Regions from separate parts of the Homo sapiens genome. Here all the other regions are linked to region 1. The links are contacts of gene promoters, found by promoter capture Hi-C in blood cells and fetal thymus (Javierre and others, 2016). All regions are on one chromosome and are shown on one strand. The core of a region is centred on a gene start or on the middle of the fragment in contact, and the rest is flanking DNA. Distances in the headings are between cores, read along the strand shown.

The links. The method cuts DNA at HindIII sites, captures the fragments that hold promoters and counts their contacts. A CHiCAGO score of 5 or more calls a contact.
Region 2: the fragment with the promoter of GANAB here is called in contact with the fragment with the promoter of SCGB1A1 in region 1 in 3 of 17 cell types (monocytes, erythroblasts and M2 macrophages); the score reaches 5.8 in monocytes.
Region 3: a fragment that was not itself captured here is called in contact with the fragment with the promoter of SCGB1A1 in region 1 in 1 of 17 cell types (M0 macrophages); the score reaches 5.0 in M0 macrophages.

Annotation. Positions count from the first base shown.
Region 1 is chr11:62,417,590-62,420,502 of GRCh38, reverse strand. SCGB1A1 (secretoglobin family 1A member 1) reads right to left here and starts at 1,470. Exons shown (of 3, transcript NM_003357.5): 1 at 1,353-1,470. The coding sequence starts at 1,407. All of the region lies in intron 1 of LOC102723765 (a long non-coding RNA gene), which reads left to right. RefSeq lists a silencer at 2,152-2,446. The HindIII fragment of the contact is 29,364 bases long and covers 521-2,913 here.
Region 2 is chr11:62,645,149-62,648,061 of GRCh38, reverse strand. It overlaps GANAB (glucosidase II alpha subunit), which reads left to right and starts at 1,449. Exons shown (of 24, transcript NM_198334.3): 1 at 1,449-1,500. The coding sequence starts at 1,463. It overlaps INTS5 (integrator complex subunit 5), which reads left to right. Exons shown (of 2, transcript NM_030628.2): 2 at 1-1,214. The coding sequence ends at 1,042. RefSeq lists a silencer at 1,278-1,357 and enhancers at 1,968-2,127, 2,443-2,913. The HindIII fragment of the contact is 15,573 bases long and covers 1-2,913 here.
Region 3 is chr11:62,214,123-62,217,035 of GRCh38, reverse strand. No RefSeq gene overlaps it. Among named protein-coding and RNA genes, the nearest start is that of SCGB2A1, 6.9 kb to the right of the region's middle. The HindIII fragment of the contact is 3,405 bases long and covers 1-2,913 here.

The DNA of each region.
Region 1 (2,913 bases), core at 221-2,720:
GTCTCTACTAAAAATACAAAAATTAGCTGGGTGCAGTGGTGCGTGCCTGTAATCCCACCTACTTGGGAGGCTGAGGCAGGAGAATCGCTTGAACCCGGGAGGCGGAGGTTGCAGTGAGCTGAGATCGCGCCACTGCACTCCAGCCTGGCAACAGAGCGAGACTCTGTCTCAAAAAAAAAAAAAAAAAAGAATGAAAAGAGATATTATGTGAAAGGGTGACAGTGATTGGCACATTGTGTGAAGTAAGTGTTAAATATTGTATGCATGTGCACACAAATAGACAAATGCATCTCTGACCCACCCCTTAACATGTTGCAGTCCTATCTTGCTCAGCCACCCACCTCTGTACGCAGACAGCACTGAGATCTTCTAATTAATACACATTTCAGTCCAAAATGATGTCATTTTCTCTGAAAAACAAATAAACCTCTCTGCAAAATAGTTGTTCCTACTGCTTCTTGGTTTGGGTTTTCTAACTCCCCAGGGTCATAAAACTTATCTCCATGGGTGTTGTGAAGCTTTCCAAGTGAATTAATTGGAGTTTGTTTATTAAAAAATAACAACAGCATTTTCAGATGAGAATGGAAGAGGCTGACGCAGAGTGAAAAACAGAGTTAGATAACCCAGTTCCCCAAAGACGGGGGATCTTGGAGAGAGCTGTGATCCTTCTTTCCTTCCTTTCTCCCCCTCTCTCCGTCTCTCTTTCTGCCCCTCTTCCCCCCACAGTTCTTTTCCTTTTAGTGACAGCAGCAACTACTCAGAGACTCCTAATCCCTTTTGCAGAGGACGGAAATGTTTAGAAAACTTCACTCTGGGTTGGCAGTTCCCCAAAGGGAAGCTCTCTTTCTGGAATATTCCTCTGTGCCCAGAATGAGAGACCTTGTCTTGGGTTGGGTTTCTTTTGGGGTCACGAGTCCCTGCAGCTCCCCTTCCAGTGACTTCAGCTGCCAGCATGGAGTGGAGACCCCAGACTTGGAGGCTGCACCAAGGTCTCAGCATCTTGGAGTCTGTCCAGATCTGGGATGAGGGCCTCATTATTCCTATGCTGGATGTACTCATCTTTATGGGGTATTCTCCACTCCTCCCTCCAGGCTATTCCATTCCCTGGGATTCTGAGGGTTGTTGGATATAGAAGATGGGACCCTTTTTAGGCTTCCTTACAGCCTGGGGCTCTCTCCAAGTTTCCAAGATGAGCTTGCTCACCAGACCCAGTTTTCTGAGACTCAGCATGCCCAGGTCCTCCCAGCAGCTCCAGAGCAGGAATGGGCAGCTCACTCCTTCTTCTGAGCAGAACTGGGGGGTCCTGAGAGTTCCTAAGTCCAGGAGGGAGGGAAGGGTCTCTGAGCACTCACCGGAGCTGCAGCAGAGAGCCAGTGTGACCAGGGTGAGGGTGACAGCGAGTTTCATGGTGGAGGAGGGGGATGCTCTGGCCCGTCTCTGGTTCCGTCTCTGAGTCTGGTGGGCTAGTATGAGACATGCCCAGCAAGGTGCCTTTTATATGCTCTAGGCAGCAGCACCCAGATGGGGAAGGGCAGGGCAAGGGCTCTACATAAGATACTGCACTATTTACTTGGCATTGGCTTGGTGGGATAGGTAAATATTCCCTTTTCTCAACCCAGTTTCTGTCCCCACTGAAACTGAGCTCACACAATGGGCCACTTGGGGGTGGAGGGCCGAGCCCTGCCTGGAGGCAGTGAAGGGAACCCAAGTCAGAGGATGTGGAAACCCAGCTGCCTGTGTCACTCACTGAACCTGGGCACTGGGGCAGTCCAGATCAAGAGAAGCAATTGTGGAGCCCACCTGGAGAAACTGAGGCCCAAGTTCCCTCACAAGTGGCAGGGACAGGACTAGGACTAGGACTCAGGACCCTGACACTCCACTGGGCTCTTTCATAGGCTCCCCTCTGAGGAGGGCGACTGAACCTTAAGCCAGGAAAGACACATGGTTTGGAGCATTGCTGTGGTCAGACTTCGGGGGCCCCTGGATTGAAGCATGTTGAATAAAAGGGACCCTTCCAGAATTCCCATCAGAAACCTGAGCCCTGCCCCAGGCTGGGTCTGTTCCCACCCAGAAGTGCTCTCAAGTCCTGTGCTCCTGATGGCCCAATTGGTGGGACCTTCAGTCCTTATCTCACTTGACCTCCCAATGGCCTTGACACCTGTGACTGCTTCCTTCTCGAACCATTCTCTCTCTTGCGCTCCCACGCCTCAGTTCTTTCCTGTTTTCCTTCTTCTGGCCATTCCTTCTTGTTCTCTTTAGATGTTTATTCTTTACTGTTCTTAAGTGTTGATGGTTCCCAGGCTTTGGCCTTCTCCCCTTTCTTGCCTCCAGTTGCCATTTCCTGGTTCTTCTCCAAAGCCCGGGCCTCATAGCACCTAACCTGGCCTGGTCAAAATCCCCTGACTCGACCTCCCTGCCTCCCTGCTAGCTCTCCTCAGCCATCCTCTGAAAGGCCATCAGAATGATCTTCCTAAAACCCACTGGTCGTGTCCTTCTTCTTGAAACCCTTAAACTCTTCCTTTTGCCTAAAGAATAAAATTCAAGTGCAATTTACAAGGCCCTTGCCCACTGACCTTTGCCTACCATTTGAACTTCATTTCTCCTCTCCCCCACACAACGACTTAGCCCTCTCTTACTATTTGTGGATTCGAGAATGTTCCATGTTTTTTCATGCCTTTCTACCTATGCACAAGCTAAGCCTCATGCCTGAATACACATTTCCTGCCTTGTCCACTTCGCCAAATTCTATTCGTACTTCAAGACTCAATCAAATATTGATCCATTCATTCATCCAATAAATGCTGACCACCTATGATGTGCCAGATGTGGTGCTAGGAGTCGGGAACTGGGGTAGATAGACATGGAGAGGCATTGCGTGGCACTTCAAGAACTCCTCAAAAATAAATAAATAAA
Region 2 (2,913 bases), core at 200-2,699, 230 kb before region 1:
TCTCACCCGCCTGTCTCAGACATCCCCAGCTGGGCTCAAGGCTGTCCTGCAGCTGCTGGTTGAAGGAGCCTTACATCGAGGCAACACAGAACTGTTTGGTGGGCAAGTAGATGGGGACAATGAGACTCTCTCAGTTGTTTCAGCTTCTTTGGCTTCTGCCTCCCTGTTGGACACTAACCGGAGGCACACTGCAGCTGTGCCAGGTCCTGGAGGGATTTGGTCAGTTTTCCATGCTGGAGTCATCGGCCGTGGCTTAAAGCCACCCAAGTTTGTCCAGTCACGAAATCAGCAGGAAGTGATCTATAACACCCAGAGCCTCCTCAGCCTCCTGGTTCACTGCTGCAGTGCCCCAGGGGGCACTGAATGTGGGGAATGCTGGGGGGCACCCATCTTGAGTCCAGAGGCAGCCAAAGCAGTGGCAGTGACCTTGGTGGAGAGTGTGTGTCCCGATGCAGCTGGTGCAGAGCTGGCCTGGCCCCCCGAGGAACACGCCCGGGCCACCGTGGAGCGGGATCTCCGCATTGGCCGGCGCTTCCGCGAACAGCCCCTGCTCTTTGAGCTGTTAAAGCTGGTAGCAGCTGCACCCCCAGCCCTGTGCTACTGTTCCGTGCTGCTTCGGGGGCTGCTGGCCGCCCTCTTGGGCCATTGGGAAGCCTCTCGCCACCCTGACACGACCCACTCCCCCTGGCACCTGGAGGCATCCTGCACCTTAGTGGCTGTCATGGCTGAGGGAAGCCTCCTGCCTCCGGCCCTGGGTAATATGCATGAAGTATTTAGCCAACTGGCACCTTTCGAGGTGCGTCTGCTGCTGCTCAGTGTCTGGGGTTTTCTCCGGGAGCATGGGCCCTTGCCTCAGAAGTTCATCTTCCAATCAGAGCGGGGTCGCTTCATTCGGGACTTCTCCAGGGAGGGTGGAGGTGAGGGTGGACCCCATCTGGCTGTGCTGCACAGTGTCCTCCACCGCAACATCGACCGCCTAGGTCTTTTCTCTGGCCGTTTCCAGGCACCTTCACCGTCCACTCTCCTTCGACAGGGGACGTAGCCTTTTCTTGCTCTGGAAGCCCAGGGAGGTTGAGCAGTGAGAGAGGGAAGGGACTAACGTGCTCCGGAAGGGTGGAGGTTTCTCTTCTAAGTCCTTGGTCTAAAGAGCGCTGTCACTTTTTTCTCTCCCACTTTTTTTTTTCTAAATAAAATTTGCCAACTTGAGAAAACCAGTCCAGTGCTTCTGTCATGCTGAGAGCGTGCAAAGTCTGACAGCGCCTGGCTCTGGACGTTCCCGCCCCTGGCCTGAAGCCCCGCCCCCTGCGATAATTTGGAGTGCGCACTCTACCAATGAGACAGCTGCCCGGCGGCGCTCAGGTCGAACCAATCATAAGGCCGGAAGGGGCGGGAACTAGGATACGTGGCTGAGCGCGCGCGATGGGGCGGGAGGTTTGGGGTCAAGGAGCAAACTCTGCACAAGATGGCGGCGGTAGCGGCAGTGGCGGCGCGTAGGAGGCGGTGAGGAGCCCGGAATCTGGGGGCGCGCCCGGGACGCCCCCAGATCCCCCAAGTCCCATTCCACTCCTTCCTGTGTGTCTCTTGACACTCTGCCACCCCCGGCCTCGTGAGGAACCTTTGTTCCTCTGGAGGCGGCCTCAGACGCCTCCGGTCTCCCCGTGGTAGATCCGAGCGACGCTGGGGGCCTTGCCTGTGGGGCTCCGGGCTCCCGCCCGGCGGTTTAGTAAAGCCACAGCTGTGCGTCTTTCTTGGTCTTGGCCGCTCTCAGCCGCCGCCCTCCTTTGGCTGCTTGCGGCGGTCAACGTCGCCGCCCCCTTCCTGCAGTGCGCGGGGTCGTCGGGGCGGGGGAAAAGATGCGGCCTGGCCTCGGGGAATGCAGCCTGCGGCCCCGCGGCCCCTCGGCTGAGCTGGAAGCACCGGGCCAGCAGTTAAGCCTGTACTACCCTTCTGGCTCTACCCTGTAGAGCTCCGAATCCTCCTCTGCCCTTGTCTTCACGTGAGCACCAGCTCTGGCTTAGTTCAGTGTCCACGGTCGCTGGGCACGGCCCAGGGTCCAGTAAGCTCACGGCGTGGATGGTGTTGCTCAAACACAACATGTAATCGAATGGCTTGGTCCACGCTCTCGGGTTTATATTACTGGGGAAAAAAAAAGATTCGAAACATATCACCAGTGCCACAAATGTTTACTAGGACCTAACGGATATACTGGGGTGGGGTAGGCGTGTACTCTCCAAAGCGATGAAGAAAGCGTGGATCATAAACTCAGTTCCCTCGGAGCCTGTGATCTGAAACAATAAATGCGTGCAACTTGCCCTGCAGCTTATTCCTGACTTTGGCCTATGAACACCTCTCTTGGGGTGGTCAAGGCCGCCGTGAATTCCTTAGGGCCCTCCAACAGGTCATATCTGAAAGATGCTTTAGGAATCCTATCTCCATTGGCATCTTTCCGAACCAATTTTACAGACTGTGCAAATAGGGCCCCAGAGGGTATTTAACTCACTGTACGTCTTTTTTTTTTTTTTTTGAGAGACAGAGTCTCGCTCTGTTGCCCAGGCTGGAGTGCAGTGGCGAGATCTCGGCTCACTGCAAGCTCCGCCTCCTGGGTTCACGCCATTCTCCTGCCTCAGCCTCCCGAGTAGCTGGGACTACAGGCACCCGCCACCACGCCTGGCTATTTTTTTGTATTTTTAGTAGAGACGGGGTTTCACTATGTTGGTGAGGATGATCTCGATCTCTTGACCTCGTGATCCACCCGCCTCGGCCTCCCAAAGTGCTGGGATTACAGGCGTGAGCCACCGCGCCCGGCCTCAACTCACTGTACTTCTATTTACTGCTGCTTTTGGCAGGTGGACGTGGGTCAGTGGCCAAGAGTGCCTGTTGCAGTCACTCAGGTCACTCACTGCAGGACCTGTG
Region 3 (2,913 bases), core at 113-2,612, 200 kb after region 1:
GGTTTGGGGTACTGATTCTCTAATTTTCTTTACTATCATTTTTCTTAGGTCTTGTATATTTTCCCTGTGAGCTGTGCTATTATTGTCTTACCGGGCTGAAGGGGGCCAACCCCTCCACACCTGTGGGTATTTCTCGTAGGTGGGATGAGAGACTGAGAAAAGAAATAAGACACGGAGACAAAGTATAGAGAAAGAACAGTGGGCCCAGGGGACCGGCACTCAGCATACGGAGGACCTGCACCAGCACCGTTCTCTGAGTTCCCTCATTATTTATTGATTACCATTTTCACTATCTCAGCAAGAGGAATGTGGTAGGAGAGCAGGGTGATAGTGGGGAGAAGGTCAGCAAGAAAACATATGAGCAAGGAATCTGTGTTACAAGTAAGTTCAAGGGAAGGTACTATGCCTGGATGTGCACGTAGGCCAGATTTATGTTTCTCTCCACCCGAACATCTCAGTGGAGTAAAGAATAATAAAGCAGCATTGCTGCCAACATGTCTCACCTCCCGCCACAGGGCAGTTTTTCCCTTTTTCTCCTATCTCAGAATTGAACAAATGTACAATCGGGTTTTATACTGAGACATTCAGTTCCAGGGGCAGGAGACAGTGGCCTTTCTCTATCTCAACTGCAAAGGCTTTCCTCTTTTACTAATCCTCCTCAGAACAGACCCTTCCCGGGTGTCGGGCTGGGGGACAGTCAGGTCTTTGCCATCCCACGAGGCCATATTTCAGACTATCACATGGGGAGAAACCTTGGATATACCTGGCTTTCCAGGACAGAGGTCCCTGTGGCTTTCCACAGTGCATTGTGCCCCTGGTTTATCAAGACTGGAGAATGGTGATGACTTCTACCAACCATACTGCCTGTAAACATTTTGTTAACAAGGCACATCCTGCACAGCCCTAGATCCCTTAAACCTTGATTCCATACAACACATGTTTTTGTGAGCTCAAGGTTGGGGAAAATTACAGATTAACAGCATCTCAGGGCAAAGCAATTGTTCAGGGTACAGGTCAAAATGGAGTTTCTTATGTCTTCCCTTTCTGCATAGACACAGTAACAGTCTGATCTCTTTCTTTTCCCTACCCCGGGGGTCTTGGGTGGAAAACTTTCGATCTGCATTAGGAATGTTTGACCGGGAGGATATTTACATTTTTAAATTGCCATAGCAGCCCTAGGGATCATGTTTTTTTCCTTCCCTGAAAAGAGGATGTCTAGGATGGACATTAACTCGACCCAAGTGTGTAACCGAGGTCTCAAAAACTGATCAACCTGATCTGTCACTCTGTAAGTGTCATATAACAATGGCTTAAGTTTCTTCTTCAAACTTTAGACCTCCAAACTGGTTAAGGGAGTATTTACAAAGTCAGTAGTTCCATCTCCTTGTGGCACCTCTTTTAAGGGGAAGAGAGTTGGGGCTGACTCCTTAGGTGTGGAGGGAAATGGGAAATTTTGAATATCCTTTTTATATTGTTTTTTCTAATGCTGGAGTCTTTTTAGGGAAGGATACATGGGCTGAGAAGAAATAGGCTACATGGGCTGAGAAGAAATAGGCTCATGGGATGATGATTCCCAGGAATCTGGATTGTAAGGAGGAGGAATAATGTGAGCAAGGGAGGGATCTGGGGCAGGATCTGGGACAGAAGGGCTGTCTGAGGGGAAGGGTTAAGAGCATTCAGCAGGGGAAGATGGTCTAGGGGATCCCATGTGCTGGAGTCTTTAGGCATGAGAACTGGCTTTTCTGACTCTTTATTTTGGGGTTTTTGATTGAGTTTTTTCCTAATTGTCTTTCAGGGAAAAAGGAGAATAGGTCTCTGTCTCTAAAAAAGAATATAGTCCAGCTCTTCTTGAGAAACTAGATTTTTGTCATTTACATATTGAATTACAAGTTGACACATCACATCCTTATTTGACCTAAACTTTGGCCAGAAGATTGAGGGTTTGAGGATAGGTCTCTGAGTCCAAATAAAACAGCAATATTTTATCATCTGTTGCATGGCTTTTGTAGGTCACAGGTATTACATTGCCTTCATAGGCCACTTCTTCATAAGAACATTTTAAACATACTTTACAACTGTATTGGTAAGACGAAGTATAGAATTCAGGCTAGATTCATTGGTATATGTTCATTAATATTACAATCACTTCAGGAAATTATTCTTTAAATTATAACATTTTCATACACCCCTATGTATATTGTGGGCCTGGATCCCTGCCCTTGCCTTGCCTGATGGAAGAGTCGGCCCTGGTGAAGCTGAGTTGTCCAGACACATAGACAGGGTCTTCCTGGGTGAGGGGATAGCCCCAGAAGGAAAAGGGACAGGCAATAACCTAACCCTGGTGACAGGAGTGCTGGGGACAGGACACGATGGAGACCCCGGTTCCATTTAAACATCCCCTTCTGTGCTGGGTCCCTGCATAGCACACTCACTCCCCTCAACCCTCATTGCCTTTGCAGCTCACTGTGGGGCAGGGGAGGATGGACCCACTGGCAGAGACTGGACTGAGAAAAGTTGCACAATTTAAGGTGTCGCTATGCTAGCAAACTCAGTCATCAGGGTAAGTAATATTTTCATGCAATATTTTAAAAGTTCAAAATTAATGCCAACATCCATGAACGACAAATAAAACTCAAAATTTAAAATCCAGACAGGATCCACCTTGCTTTGCAGGCCTCCCCTCCCTGGCTGGCTCTGGTCTGGGCCCTGCACACGTTGGGGAGGCCCAAAGACAACCCAGAGGAGCCTGGCATAACCAGCAGGGCTCAGCATGGATGGGACTGGGGTAAAATCAGGGCTTCTGAGCATGACTCCAAGAGTGTGAGGTCCCCAGAGAAAGTGGCTTAGGGAGGTAGTGGGATGTGGAGAGTGAAACACTCTTCAGAGAAAAATTAGCTAAGCAACAAGAGCTAA